3 separate regions of the Homo sapiens genome follow, and regions 2 and 3 are each linked to region 1. Evidence: promoter capture Hi-C in 16 types of primary human blood cells and fetal thymus (Javierre and others, 2016). All regions are on one chromosome and are shown on one strand. Each heading gives the region's core, a stretch centred on a gene start or on the middle of the fragment in contact. The rest is flanking DNA. Distances are from core to core; before and after follow the strand shown. Region 1 holds the start of PVALB (parvalbumin). Region 2 has its middle 4.1 kb from the start of C1QTNF6. Region 3 has its middle 12 kb from the start of EIF3D.

Region 1 (2,897 bases), core at 129-2,628:
TTTCCAGGAAGGGCAGCCATCCAGGGCTGAGCTGCAGGAGACAATGTTGACAGCGATGTCAGGGAACTTGAGTTACTGGGCAGCTGGACAGCTGCTCTCCCTGGTCCCCACCACCCAGGGCCACCACAGCCCAAGGCCCTGCCTACCTGCCAATACCTTAAGTTGCAGTCCCCAGGTCCCACTACATGGGACCACTGACGTCATCAACACATCAGAAGGAGACAGAAGCCCAGAGAAGGTCACAACCCAAGGTCACACTGGGACTTAGTGCAGCCCAGGATCTAGAACCCAGGCCTCCTGACTCCCTGTCCAGCGCTCACACACTCTAGAAGCAGCTGGTTGCAGCTTGAAACCTTGGGAACCATGGGGAAGAACACAACGGGTCTCTGGCTGCATACAGATAGGCACCGTGACATTTTTCCAGAGGTGAAGTTCAGACCCCTACACCTGCTTAGGTTGTCTAGAAAGTGTGGTCTGAAGGTGCTACCCTTCTTCCAAACACATATGGGGCTTTCTGGGAGGGAGCATAGCAATTCCAAGCGGACTCTCCCACCCTACTCTGCCCAAAAAAGGTTTATAGGAGTAGGGGGAGTCTGGACCCATGATGCCAGGACCCAGGAGACCAGGAAAGCAAGTAGTTAGTAGAGATCTGAGAAGTGTTCTTCGAAAAATCAAGCCAGCAAAAAAATAAAAAATAAAAGTAAAACATCAAATCAGGTTTTAGAATATGCATCCCTGGCCAGATGTGGGATGGGGCACCCGAAGTGGGCCCCAGCAGCTCCTGCCTGTCCCTGTCCCTGTCCCTGCCACCTCCTCCCTGCGTCGGGTGGGTCAGGTTTCAGGACCTCAGCGCTCAGATTTTGCAGCATAAATTTGCATCCAGGACAGACCAGAGCAGAGGCTGAGGTAGGAGTGGAGAGAGAAAGGGAGCAGGGCCTAGGAGGTCCTGAGGTGCAGGCTGGCCGCTGAAGGTTCAGGATCTTCCCCCACGCGGCAGGACATCCGCCAAGGTTCCCAGATCTGAGACGGCGCACCTCCTGCGTGTCCTTGACGGCAGGTGGACTTTCCAGACCCAGCTGGTGACGCCAGTGCCCCCTAAATCCCAGAGGTGGCCCCTTCCCTCGTGCCCTGGCCGCAGCCCCTGGGATCCCGCGGACCCCTGGCCTGGCGGTGCAGGAGTGGTAGCAGGTCCGCGCGCCTTCTTGCCGGCGGCCGGCGCTGCTCAGCGGCGCGGCTGGACTGAGCCGCTCCCGCTGCGCTCAGAGTCCGGGCCCCTGGCGCCATGCCAGGCCCGGCGGGCGTGCGCCCGGCGCGCAGCACTGCAGCGCTGGTCATATGAGCAGAAATGATGAGAAAAGCACTTTTTAATCTTTTCGCACTTGCTCTGCCCGCTCAAACAGTTGCAGGATGTCGATGACAGACTTGCTGAACGCTGAGGACATCAAGAAGGCGGTGGGAGCCTTTAGCGGTGAGCAAGCGCGCTCCCCTCCCCATCCCTCTCCCCTCGTCCACCGCCCGCGCCCCTGCACTCCGCCGGCCCCGCAGCCGGCGGATCCTCCCCAGCGCGCTTCTGCCCACACTTCCCGCTGGGCGCCGGCGAGGTCGGGGCGGGGGCGTCCTTGGCAGTTCCCAAACTCTGTCCGGGCGAGGCTTGGCGCGGGGAGCGGGCGGGGAAGAGGGCGCCCCGCCTAAGTTACAGAAACTTGAGGGTGCTGAAGGCCCGGTGGCTGGGAGGACTCAGGGTCCGGGACCAAGGGCGAAGACCAGGGTCGGAGGAGAGACCTCCAGGGTCCTTGTACGAGCTCTCTGGACGTCCTCTTTAAGGCACTTAGAGGGGACTGCAGGGGGCATCCTCCTCTCCAAGAGACCCCTTTCCTGGACCCTCATTCTGGACAGGACTTTTCCCGCCAGGCGGTAGCCTTTGTTGGCCCCCTGACTGTCCTAGTTCCTTTACTGAGATTCAGCAACGGACCTGCGGGCGAGGTGACCTTCTGGAGCCGGCGCACAGCTCTGCCTAAGCCCGCACGGGGCATCCTCAGTGCCTCAAACCTCCAGCCTCCTTAGGCGGGCAGGGGAGGGGAACTGGCAGTCTCACCTCTCCCAGCTGCCCGGGACTTCAGCGCTAAGCTGCCCGCCTTCCTCCTCCCCTGTCCTCCAGATGGGGAAATCAGGGAACTGTCTTGGAGAGGACAAGACATTTGCCCAAGGTCACCTAGCTGGGCAGAAGGGGTATTAGAACTGGGTTGCCCAGCCTAGTGTCGGAGGTGGACAGGGCAACTTTCCTTGTCTCTAGCCCTGTGCTGAGGGGAAGAGAACATGACTTCAACAGCCATTCCCTACACACACACACACACACACACACACACAAAATACATGATCTAACATTGTACCCTTCCCCAGGTGTTCTAAAACAGGACCCCAAGATACAGAAAATTGCAGGTAGAAAAGGACCCCCATTTCCTTTCTGCTTTGCACCCCCTCCCCTGGGCACAAGAACCTCTCTGGGAAGCCACCCTCCCAGGGTCCTGGGATAACCCTCTCCCTTCACCTCAAGCCCATGTGGGAAGAAACTTAACTGGGTGTTTCTCGGGAGCCTCCTAACACCCCCTTCCCACTGCCTCCGAAGTGGATTTCTGCGCAGAGCCAGGACTTCCGGGTTTGCCCCTCCTCCTCCCACTGTATGACCTTGAGGGAAACCTGTCCTTTCTATGTCAATTTTCTGGCAACAAAGTCTGTGGCCAAGAAAGAAGGTCAACCCTCCTCCCCCTAACCCCAGGACCATGTTCATGCCCCCTTCAATTCCCCAGCCCACTCCCAACCAGCTGGCACTCAAAAGTCTTCCTGGGCACAAGGTTCTCAGAAGAACAAAAGCCTTTGGTTCTTAGGTGCTGCTCCCA
Region 2 (2,897 bases), core at 178-2,677, 380 kb before region 1:
CTGCACTACCCTTGGCGATTCTAGATCTCGTAAAAACTGCTTATCACCTCTTTGAAAATACCTTGTATACCTGGGTTAAGTGCTAACCTTAGTTAAGGCTTACCGGTTTCACCTGGGAGGTTACTGTTAGTGAAGTTCAAAAGCCAGAAATATTGGCTGTTTGTCCCGGCTAGAGTCTGGTAACAAGATTTGGTTAAAAGTCAGCTTAATTAAAAATGGATATCCAAGCTATACATATATTTAAAAGGCCTTTATGCTTTTTTTTCTCTTCTTGGCTCTTATTTTTCTGAAAAATTTTTTCTTTTCAGTCGACTTAATTTTTTTCCCCATTTTGTCTTCTTGCCACTCTTGATGCCCCACCTGAGAGGACCTAAGATAAATTTTAATAGCCTGGGACTTCTCAGGAAAAAAGGAGGTGCTACAGACCCTGTTTTGGGAGAAACCTCTGTTCTCCTCATGGACACCCCCAGGAATTGAAAGCAGATAGACCACTCTCAAAATCTAAGGCTCTGCTCTGTTTTGTATTGTGTTATCTGACAGTTTTGACTTTTGGGGATATCAGAAATTACTTTGCATTTTAAGAGAGCTTTTAGCCTTGCTATGTAATAACTAGGTGGGGAATACACTTTTAGGGATGGCTAATGGCAGTTTTGTGGGGATACTTGGCTCTTCGCACCTTTGGATCAGAAAAGCATGCTCTTGGCCACCTAGAAAGTATGGAAGTGTCCCCACCCTCCATTGAAAGATAAGACTGCCATGGGGGATGGGCTGATTCCCTCTCTTTGGGATCCAGGATCCAATATAAAAATGAAACCCTTAATTTTGGGGTTCTGTTTTGCCTTCCAGCTGTGCCTGCTTATTAGGCCTTAGAAACTGCAGGCTTTCCTGGCCCTGTTTCTTGAAGGGCTCCACCCTGAAGTCAGTAATCCAATTAAGAAACTTAAAAATTGGCAAATGAAAAATCTTACAACTACTGGATCTTCTGTCTGTGTATTTATATATGTTGTGTGTGTGATGTTGATATATGAAAGAGCTCTGATTAATTGGCTTAAAAATAATAAGTACTTAAATCAAATATTTTGTCAGAAAAATAGAAACATTAATGCCTTTTGGTTCACATGACTTTAATAATCTTTGGGAAATAGAGACAGTTTTAAAGATTATCAGTAACATTAAAATATCTTCAAACTTTAGACATTTGGTCTAAATTAGGCAGGTCAGATTTTAGGTTTGCTAAATGCCTCAAGGTCATAAACTGCATCATTGACTTTTGAAAATTGCCCAGCTTACCTGCTTTGGGGCCATTAGATTCTAGATAAGGCCTGGGGACTTGTCGAGTTAGCCATGCCCCCAGCTATGCTGGAAAGAGTCAGACCTTATCTGCACTTCTGCAGATAAGGCTGTCCTAGGCTCCACACCTGGAATATAAGTAAAACTGCTTACTTACCAGGTTTTTCACCAAAAAATAAAAGTTGCTAAGAGTTAACATCGTAATATGTTATATGTAATTGAGACTACTAGAGAAACAGTTTTATATGCAAGGTGTGTAAGGAAAATTGAATATGCTTTTGGTAAGAAGATTATAAGAAAGCATGGGAATGTGGACTTTCCCCCTACTTTAGAGGGTTAAAGGATTGTTTCAAGTTAGGTAGGATAAAGCTGAAGGTTTGAGCAAGTTATGGAAGGTTTGTGAAAGATTAATCTTGTAAAAGAAATTCTGTGTGAACTTATTGGCTTAAATTAAAGGGATATTATTCAGTTTTTCCATAAATTAAATATGGAATAAAAGTATAACAAGGTTTTCTTAGAGCACTGGTATACTCTTTAACAAGAAAATTGTAAAGAGCTATAAAAGGTTTATGAGACTCTTACCTCATGGTCAAACATTAAAATTGGATAGAGTTGTCTATAAGGCTTTATTATGAATTGGGTTTGACATTAATAGTACACAAATGCAAAGGTAAAATTTGGCTTTCTCTCTTGAACAAGTTTTTCATGTAATATTGAAAAATAATTAAAGATTTTTGTTTGCCTTTTGAATAAGCTATAGAAAAAAGAAAGGAACGAAAAGAGACAGTTTTTTTTGGAAAGCTAAGTCTTCCCTTTATCGGTGAGTAAAGGTTTTTGCCCTTAAAAACATCTTTGAGTTATCATTTTGGCCAAATAAATGACTTATGGTGACCTGGGATGCTATTTTGTAGTATCAAATGTTTTAAATTTTTGATATTTGACAAACTTTCCAAAATCAAATTCTAAGTTATGCCTTTTTCTAACCTGATTAGTCCTTTAGATATTAGGTCCCCTAAAGTCCAAAAATGACATATTTGGCTTATTTGGTACATTAAAATAATACAGGAAGCATTGTCAAATATGAAATTGTGTTTGGCTTTCTTTGGGCTGTGTTTATATAAATATGTTATTGGTATGTGTTCCAAAATTATGGGAAACTCCTATAATTCTGATATGAACATTATCAATACTAATGGACATTATCAATAATAATTATAATTGTTATGATGTTAATTTATTATATGCCACAGAGGTATCCACATTTCCTAGTCAATGATATTAATTCTTTAACCATGACTGCTCTAAGTCTTTCTGTCATCCATAGACAATTGTTGTCTTGCTTTTATTCTCTTCAAAAGGTGGTTTATAATCAGCTATAGGACTCTGATGAGTACTCTTAAATGCAGAGAAAAAGAAAACATCATCCAAGACTCTTGGAAAACTAACACATATATATCAAGCAAAACAGGAATTAATTGCATAGACTGAACTAATAAAAGACTGAAATAATCTTTTATGACTTTTTGCTTAAAATGTTGTTGATCTTTCTGTTTTGTTTTTCAGAGTCAAGAAACCCCCCCTTCTTGAGCTATTTACAGCTTTTAACA
Region 3 (2,897 bases), core at 208-2,707, 280 kb after region 1:
ACTCCCCAGATGTCTGCTTGCATTACAGTGATGTCAGACTGCTCCATGAGACCACCTTAAATATCACCTTGCGGTCACTCAGCCCCAGCCACAAGGCTCTCCAGGCACCCGCCGGGGCAGTGGGAACCAAGGCATGTGGTATGAAGAGATGAGAGACCGGATGCGGTGGCTCATGCCTGTCATCTCAGCATTTTGGGAGGCTGAGGAGGGCGGATCACCTGAGGTCAGGAGTTCGAGACCAGCCTGGCCAACATGGTGAAACTCTGTCTCTACTAAAAAACACAAAAATCCGCTGGGCCTGGTGGCAGGCACCTGCAATCCCAGCTACTCGGGAGGCTGAGGTGGGGAGAATTGCTTGAACCCAGGAGATGGAGGTTGCGGTGAGCTGAAATCGCACCACTGCACTCCAGCCTAGGCAACAGAGAGAGACTCCATCTCAAAAAAAAAAAAAAAAAAAAAAAACAGAGATGAGAACAACACTGTGCTGCAGAAAGTGGGGGCCTGAGGTTCAGAGAGGGGCACCTACTAGCCCACAGCTGTGCGGCCAGATCGAGCCAAAATCAGTATTTATCTTTGGCCCTAAGACCCCAAATCCCAGCTTCCAACAGAAGAAAACATATGGGGCAGAGAGAAGGAGCCAAGGAGAGGCCTGGTTATTGCTCATCCCATTGAAACAGTCAAACACTCTCTAAACTAGCTAAATGGTTCTGAAGGAAATGGGAATCTATTTTGTCTCCTGTCGCCAGGCCTGCAAATCCTGATATATCTCAGGCCACGGCAGCGAAGCGGATGGCTCAGCACTTGGAGACATGCCCACACGAGGCAGGAAGTAGGGTGGATGATTCAACAGGTACCTCTCTATTCTGAGAACTGGTCCTGTGATGGGTGAGTGTACATGCAGCTGAAATAAAAAATGATTTAGAATGTCGACCACTGGAACGCACAGCAAAGCCTCCCTTTCTTCCTGGGGGACTTGTGGCATTCTTTGGGGCTTTAATCTTTCCAGGTTTTCTAGTTCTGAAATTTTGCTGAGACAACAAGGTTCTTGGGAGGCTGGGGTGGGCTGGTGGCTCCAAAGCTTCCTTTCCTGCTGGCACAGCCTCCAACAGGATGATAAAATGGCTGCCGTCCTACCTGGGACACCATGTTCCTTGCCCTCAGTCTTCCTCATCTGCAGAATGGGGGTAGTGATCTCTGCCTAACCGAGACAGAAAAGTTTGGTACAGGTAGCACAGCTCCACAATTTCTTATCTGAAATCCTCGCGGCTCAATGTGCTTTATCAATTTATGTATTTTATTTTATATTTTATTTATTTTGAGACACAGTTTCACTCTGTCGGCCAGGCTGGAGTGCAGTGGCCCGATTTTGGCTCACTGTAACCTCCACCTCCTGGGTTCAAGCGATTCTCATGCCTCAGCCTCCCCCAGTAGCTGGGATTACAGGGACCCACCACCACGCCTGGCTAATTTTTGTATTTTAGTAGAGATGAGGTTTCACCCAGGCTGGTCTCAAACTACTGACTTCTGGTGAGCTGCCCGCCTTGGGCTCCCAAAGTGCTGGGATTACAGGTCTGAAGCCACCACATCCGGCCTCAATGTGCTTTATAACTTGGAATTCTTTGGATTCCTGAAAGGTTTTCGAGTGGATCTACCGCATATCAGGTGACATGCCAGTGAGCTCTGGAGCAATATTCCATAAACCCTTTAATTTTTCTGCAGCAAAATGTATAAATATTCACGCTAAGTGGGACAAAATAAAGACTATAAATAACCTCACATCCAATTCATATCAGGTTTGCCATCAAATGCTTGCCCCAATCTCATGAAAAAGCTTTAGATTTTCAGAGCTTTGTGGGTTTTGGAATTGTGCATGGAGAGTGCCAGCTTTGGTTTCAGCCACACCTGGGTTTCCATTCCAAATGCACCCTGACCAGCTGGCTCACCTGGGGCAAGACATTCCTCCTCTCTGAGCCTCAGTGTTCTCGTCTATAAAATGGGGTGATGATTCCTATGGTGCTTCTTAAAAGATAAGCAAGGAAACGCAAGTTGCCACTCTGGAAGAGAGGTTGGCCACACTGACCGGTCCCAATGAGGTGAATCCACCACAGGATATCCGGGATCTTTCTGCACACAAGGCGGTGGCAGACTCCCTTTGACCAAACTTACAAGGCTGACGCATAGCAGAAGATCCATTTATTATTGGAGAGCACAGTAAATACCCCACCAGCAGAATGGAGCACTTCCATCAGCCTAACCAGCACGTGCTTCCCTACAGCACAAGTTCCATGAGGATCCACGGTGTCACAGCACTGCTTGGTGGCAGGGAGTCAGAATAAACAACAGCATTAAGAAGCATTTATCGGCCAGGCACGGTGGCTCACGCCTGTAATCCCAGCACTTTGGGAGGCCGAGGCGGGCGGATCATGAGGTCAGGAATTCGAGACCAGCCTGACCAACGTGGTGAAACCCCATCTCTACTAAAAATACAAAAATTAGCCAGGCATGGTGGCAGGCACCTGTAATCCCAGCTACTAGGGAGGCTGAGGCATAAGAATCACTTGAACCTGGGAGGCAGAGGTTGCAGTGAGCCAAGATTGCACCACTGCACTCCAGCCTGGGTGACACAGCCAGACTCCATCTCAAAAAAAAAAAAAAAAAAAAGTGTTTATCACAGAGCAGCTTGAAGCCACCTCTGTTTTGGGAGGACAGTCTTACCCGGGGAATGGGGATGATGCTTGAGCCAGCGCAACCAAGAACCTGTGCCCTGGACAATGCCAGCCCTGGCTCTGTGACCATCCCCTTCCTAAATGTCCCCTACTGAGGGACACTTCCATTCACTCTTTCTCCAAAGTTGCAAGGTAACTGACCAGGTTCCCCTTGGTAAACTAGGATCGTAT

What was found. The method cuts DNA at HindIII sites, captures the fragments that hold promoters and counts their contacts. A CHiCAGO score of 5 or more calls a contact.
Region 2: a contact is called between a fragment that was not itself captured here and the fragment with the promoter of PVALB in region 1, in 1 of 17 cell types (monocytes). The highest score is 5.1, in monocytes.
Region 3: a fragment that was not itself captured here is called in contact with the fragment with the promoter of PVALB in region 1 in 6 of 17 cell types (endothelial precursors, M1 macrophages, M2 macrophages and 3 more); the score reaches 9.6 in endothelial precursors.

What each region holds. Positions count from the first base shown.
Region 1 is chr22:36,815,516-36,818,412 of GRCh38, reverse strand. PVALB (parvalbumin) reads left to right here and starts at 1,378. Exons shown (of 4, transcript NM_001315532.2): 1 at 1,378-1,468. The coding sequence starts at 1,408. The HindIII fragment of the contact is 33,107 bases long and covers 1-2,897 here.
Region 2 is chr22:37,190,885-37,193,781 of GRCh38, reverse strand. It overlaps a transcript of C1QTNF6 not described here. Among named protein-coding and RNA genes, the nearest start is that of C1QTNF6, 4.1 kb to the right of the region's middle. The HindIII fragment of the contact is 3,971 bases long and covers 1-2,897 here.
Region 3 is chr22:36,540,160-36,543,056 of GRCh38, reverse strand. No RefSeq gene overlaps it. Among named protein-coding and RNA genes, the nearest start is that of EIF3D, 12 kb to the right of the region's middle. The HindIII fragment of the contact is 753 bases long and covers 1,081-1,833 here.